Linked DNA regions of Homo sapiens: region 1 is linked to region 2. Evidence: promoter capture Hi-C in 16 types of primary human blood cells and fetal thymus (Javierre and others, 2016). All regions are on one chromosome and are shown on one strand. The core of a region is centred on a gene start or on the middle of the fragment in contact, and the rest is flanking DNA. Distances in the headings are between cores, read along the strand shown. Region 1 overlaps GABPB2 (GA binding protein transcription factor subunit beta 2). Region 2 holds the start of TNFAIP8L2 (TNF alpha induced protein 8 like 2).

Evidence for each region. The method cuts DNA at HindIII sites, captures the fragments that hold promoters and counts their contacts. A CHiCAGO score of 5 or more calls a contact.
Region 1: a contact is called between a fragment that was not itself captured here and the fragment with the promoter of TNFAIP8L2 in region 2, in 6 of 17 cell types (megakaryocytes, endothelial precursors, M2 macrophages and 3 more). The highest score is 12.0, in megakaryocytes.

What each region holds. Positions count from the first base shown.
Region 1 is chr1:151,089,238-151,091,937 of GRCh38, forward strand. It overlaps GABPB2 (GA binding protein transcription factor subunit beta 2), which reads left to right. Exons shown (of 9, transcript NM_144618.3): 3 at 1,169-1,336. Among named protein-coding and RNA genes, the nearest start is that of GABPB2, 20 kb to the left of the region's middle. The HindIII fragment of the contact is 4,511 bases long and covers 1-2,700 here.
Region 2 is chr1:151,155,180-151,157,973 of GRCh38, forward strand. It overlaps TNFAIP8L2 (TNF alpha induced protein 8 like 2), which reads left to right and starts at 1,470. Exons shown (of 2, transcript NM_024575.5): 1 at 1,470-1,543. TNFAIP8L2-SCNM1 (TNFAIP8L2-SCNM1 readthrough) reads left to right here and starts at 1,470. Exons shown (of 7, transcript NR_144937.2): 1 at 1,470-1,543. It also overlaps a transcript of LYSMD1 not described here. The HindIII fragment of the contact is 1,285 bases long and covers 196-1,480 here.

The sequences.
Region 1 (2,700 bases), core at 69-2,568, 66 kb before region 2:
GCATTTCACAAAAAGAAAGAAAAGGAAACCCATGAAATTAGCATTTCTATAAATAGACCTGGAAAGAACAATGTGAATTAAATTCAGTCAGGCAGAGAGGCTAAATATATGAAAAAGCAAAGAATAAACTAAACAGGCTTAAAATAAAGAGCATAACAAAAAGAAGGGAATAGAGCTCTGGCCAAAGTGGATGCTGATAGATAACTCTTACAAGATTTACACTGGGATGACAGACTTACTTATTGCTGTTGATACATCATTGCTAAATTTTTATTGCGTCTTCATCTCATCATTCATTTTGCCCTGCTTTACTGTGGCAAAAAACTTTTCTTCCAGTCAGTCAAATTTGTACCTCAAATTCCACATGTAACTTTCTAGTCTCTACCCTTTTTCTTTTTTAAAATTTACTTTATTTATTTATTTTTTAATTTATTATGAGATAAGGTCTCTCTGTGTTGCCCAGGCTGGTCTTGATCTCTTGGGCTCAAGCAGTCCTCCTGCCTTGACCTCCCAAAGTGCTGGGATTGCAGGCATGAGCCACCACATCCAGCCTGATCCTTTTTTTGTTTGTTTTAACCTTCTAGACGTTGCGTAAAGTCACGTCCTTTAGGGAATCTTAACTGATAAATCCACCTGACATAAAGCCATTATACTTAGTACTTATTCAATTGGTGGTATATTTATTTGTCCATTAGCATGTTAATTTTTTTTTTTTTTTGAGACGGTGTTTCACTCTGTCGCCCAGGCTGGAGTGCAGTGGCACAATCTCAGCTCACTGCAACCTCTGCCTCCCAGGTTCAAAGCAATTCTCCCTGCCTCAGCCTCCTGAGTAGCTGGGATTACAGGTGCCCACCACCACGCCTGGCTAACTTTTTTTGTATTTTTTAGTTGAGACGGGGTTTCACCATGTTGGCCAGAAGAGTCTTGAACTCCTGACCTCAGGTGATCTGCCCACCCTGGCCTCCCAAAGTGCTAGGATTACAGGTGTGAGCCAGTGCACCTGGCCCCTGGCCTTTAATTTGTAAATTTAAGCATTTTTTCAGTTTTATCTGCCCAACCAGATTCTCTCTTGAAGGACAAGAACCATAGCTTGTTCATTTGTATCTCTCCAGTAACGATCTAGGACTCTGCACACAGTGGATATTCAATGAGCATTATTTTTCCACAGCTTGGAACATCACCCCTCCACCTTGCAGCTCAATATGGTCATTATTCCACAGCAGAAGTACTCCTTCGAGCAGGTGTTAGCAGGGATGCCCGGACTAAAGTAGACAGGACCCCCTTGCACATGGCTGCAGCCGATGGACATGCGCACATCGTGGAACTGCTTGTTCGGGTAAAGCAAGAATAGGGGCAAGGTTATGTTGTTAAAAAGGCATCCACTTTCCTGTTTTCTTACTTAAATGGGTACTAGGAAATGACTTGGGAATGATTAAGTTTAGGACAGTTATAGCATTAAGTTGCATCTCCAGGAGTCTTCATGGCAGGCCGGGTGCCTATAATCCCAGCACTTTGGGAGGCCGAGACGGGTGGATCACAAGGTCAGGAATTCGAGACCAGCCAGACCAACATGGTGAAACCCCATCGCTACTGAAAAAAAGCAAAAAAAAATTAGCAGGACGTGGTGGTGCGCGACTGTAATCGCAGCTACTCAGGAAGCTGAGGCAGGAGAATCGCTTGAACCTGGGAGGCGGAGGTTGTGGTGAGGCAAGATCACGCCACTGCACTCCAGCCTGGACAACAGAGCAAGAATCCGTCTCAAAACAAAACAAAACAAAACAAAAAAACAAAAAAACAAAAAAAAAAACCTTCATGGCTATGAGGAGTCTGTTTTCTTATTTATTTTTTGTTTGTTTGTTTGATTTTTGAGAAGGAGTCTTGCTCTTGTGGCCCAGGCTGAAGTGCAGTGGCACGATCTCTGCTCACCACAACCTCTGCCTCCTGGGTTGAAGTGATTCTCCTGCCTCAGCCTCCCGAGTAGCTGGGATTACAGGCGCCCGCCACTACACCCAGCCAATTTTTGTATTTTTAGTAGAGACGGGGTTTCACCATGTTGCCCAGGCTGGTCTCAAACTCCTGACCTCAGGTGATCCACCTGCCTTGGCCTCCCAAAGTGCTTGGATTACAGATGTGAGTCACCGCACCTGACTGTTTTCTAATTTATTAAAACAATTTTTTTTTTTTGAGATGAACTCTCAGCTGGGTGCGGTGGCTCACTCCTGTGTCTCAAAAAAAAAAAAAAAAAAAAAAAAAAAAAGATGAAGTCTCGCACTATCGCCCAGGCTCGAGTGCGGTGGCACAATCTTGGCTCATTGTAACCTTCGCCTCCTGGGTTCAAGCGATTCTCCTACCTCAGCCTCCCAAGTAGCTGTGATTACAGGCGCCCACCACCATGCTCAGCTAATTTTTTTTTGTATTTTTAGTAGAGATGGGGTTTCACTGTGTTGGCCAGGCTGGTCTCAAACTCCTGACCTTGTGATCTGCCTGCCTCGGACTCCCAAAGTGGTGGAATTATAGGTGTGAGCCACCACGCCCGGCCCTAAAACAATTTTTTAAATTTGAGACAGGGTCTCACTCTTTTGTCCTGGCTGGAGAGCAGTGGCATGATCATAGCTCACTGCAGTTTTCAACATCTGGGTTCAAGCAATCCTACTGCCTCAGCCTCCAAAGTAGCTGGGAGGACTACAGGCATGCAGCACC
Region 2 (2,794 bases), core at 220-2,719:
TTTCCTGCATGTGCTTATGCCGTCCCCATCATCTGGGACTTCTTCCCCATCTCTGGCTATTAAGTAGTTGAATCTATCTTTCCAAGTCTACCTCTTCAGCCCTATCATAATTAAGCTTCTTTACTCTCAAAATTATTTAAATCTCCATTAAAGTTAATGGCATTGTTTGACTAGTATTACTGTTCTTTATGTTTAAGCTTATTTCCCTCGCCAGATTCCCCATAAGATTCTTGATAGCAAGTGTTTTTGTCTCATTCAACAACTGTGACTTCCAGGATGGGTGCAGTGGCTCACGCCTGTAATCCCAACACTTTGGGAGACTAAGGTAGGAGGATTGCTTGAGCTTAGAAGTTCAGCCTGGGCAACATAGTTAGACCCTCCTCTCTACAAAAAAAAGGAAGGCTTGTGAGCCTCTGGTCCCAGCTACTTGGGAGGCTGAAGTAGGAAGAGCTCTTGAGCCCAGGAGGTCAAGGCTGCAGTCAGCTGTGATGATGCCACTGCACTGTGGCCTGGGCGACAGAGTGAGACCCTATCTCAAAAACAAAACAACAAACAAACAAACAAAACCCAATTGTGGCTTCCCCTCATTTTGTATCCCTTTAGCAGCTACAAAGTAGCTACTACAGTAGCCTACTCAGTAGGCCCTGCGGGGTGCGTTGGCTCACACCTGTAATCCCAGCACTCTGGAAGGCCAAGGTGGATCACCTGAGGTCAGGAGTTCAAGACGATCCTGGCCAACATGGTGAAACCGTCTCTACTAAAAATACAAAATAAGCCAGGCATGGTGGCACAGGCCTGTAATTTCAGCTACTTGGGAGGTTGAGGCAGGAGAATCACTTGAACCCGGGAGGCAGAGGTTGCAGTGAGCCGAGATCACCCCATTGCACTCCAGCCTGGGCAACAAGAGCAAAACTCTGTCTCAAAAAAAAAAAAAAAAAAAAAAAAAAAGGCAACTCAGTAGGCTTGTTCCTCTACGCTAGTGATTCAGTGCTGTGCTGGCACCTGCTGGTCACCTGTGGTGCAGCAGCCCTGGTCCCAGCACCTTCCTCCCTTCAGTATTAAGGGTTGTGACAGTCTGTGCTCTTACCTGGCAATCACTGGAATAATATATTAAATACTTGCCCCACAGCACCACCTTTCAATCTTCAGAACTTTTCCCACTGACCTCCTACCCCAGAAATTTGGGCTTTACATCCTTCCCAGTACTGTAGAAATGTAAGGACAGGATCTTCAGGAACTGGGCAGCAAGAAAAGAAAGAAGCAATTTGAGAGTGGAGGATGCAAATCCCTTTCCCCCCTTCAAAGAATTGAGACTATTTCCAACAGAATTCCACTCTTTTTGACCTTTGTCTTATTTCTAGGTTGCTCTTGGGCCATAGGCCTTCTTGGTGACAGAAGTGATGAACCGGAGGTTAAGCAGAGAGTAGGTAGGCGGGGCTCAAGGGGTGGGGCCAAGCCAAAGGGCTCTCACACTAAGTGAAGCTTCTCCATTCTGTAAGCTTTCCGGGAACATCCAAGGCAAGACTGGCACCCAGCACAGCAGGTGAGGGACCGGCAGTGACAGAATGGTAGACTTTAGGGGTAATGGTGGCAGAGGAATCTCTAGCTCTTTCAGTCTTAGCTTTTCATATTGTGAAACTCTCGCTTGTACAATTCTTGGGTCCTTTGTAGAGCTTAGCTTAGTTTTTCTGGTGGCAAGGCAGCCTCTGAAAGACCTGGTTTTGGATGCGGTGGGGGCAGGGCTGAGGGATGCAGGTGGATCCACATCCATATGGATGTGTGCGAAATGCAAGGAAATCTTAGGAAACAAGGAGATAGATGGGTAAGGGCCAGAGGGAGAGTATGGCCAGGCCAGAGGATCATAGGGAGGACCCAGACAAGAGAAAAAGGGAGACTGAAACAGGGAGAGAGGGAGAAGACAGCGGAATAAATGTGAGACGGCAATGGGGGCAATGGAGAGCTGGGTAACAGGAAGGCCAAGGAGGAAGGAAGGCTCACATGGAGCAATCTCCTCTTCCGGCTGGGGAGCATGGTCCAGAAAGCCCCAAGGCAAGCTGGGAGCAAAGCAAGGTTCAGGTTTCCACTGGAAGGATTCAGCTGGGGAAAAAAACCCCCACAGTCTCCACCTCCTCTGCCTCTTCAGACTCCCATTTTGGTTTGGGGGAGAGGGCGAGGCTGCTCCTCACTGCGGTCACAGCCACATCCTGCAGAGCAGAGGAGGGGGAAGTAAGAAGCAAAACAACCAGAAGAACCACAGGCGAAGACCATGGGGAGAGAACCCTGGACACATGGAGCTGATATGCCACCAAGAGGGTCCTGAGTTCAGTGTAGCAGAAGGCTCAGACCTTCAGGACTGCCTGCCCTTCTTGAGGTGTTGGCTTCTCGTGCTTCCTCAGTGTGCTTTAACCACACTGGGAGCATTCCGGGGAAGGAGGTTTCTCTGGATTATTTGGTTTGAAGCCCATCTTTATAATTTACTAGTGACTTTGGCCAAATTGCTATATTTCTCTTCGCTTCAGTTTTCTCATTGCAAAATGGGGATACCTACCCTAACCTTACACAGGATTGGGAAGGCTAAGATGACTGACGTAAAGCACTTGCATATAGTAGGTTCTCAGTAAATGTTAGTTATTACTCCTATTAGGATTCCTGGGATGCTTATGCTTCTTACTTTAAAGGAAGTATAGTGCACTAGCTGCCACTGGCTTTGGGGGCCAAAAAATGAGTTGCGTTTGATCTTGGGTAAATTACTTAATGTAAGTATCATTTGCTTAGCTGTAAAACAAGGATGGTA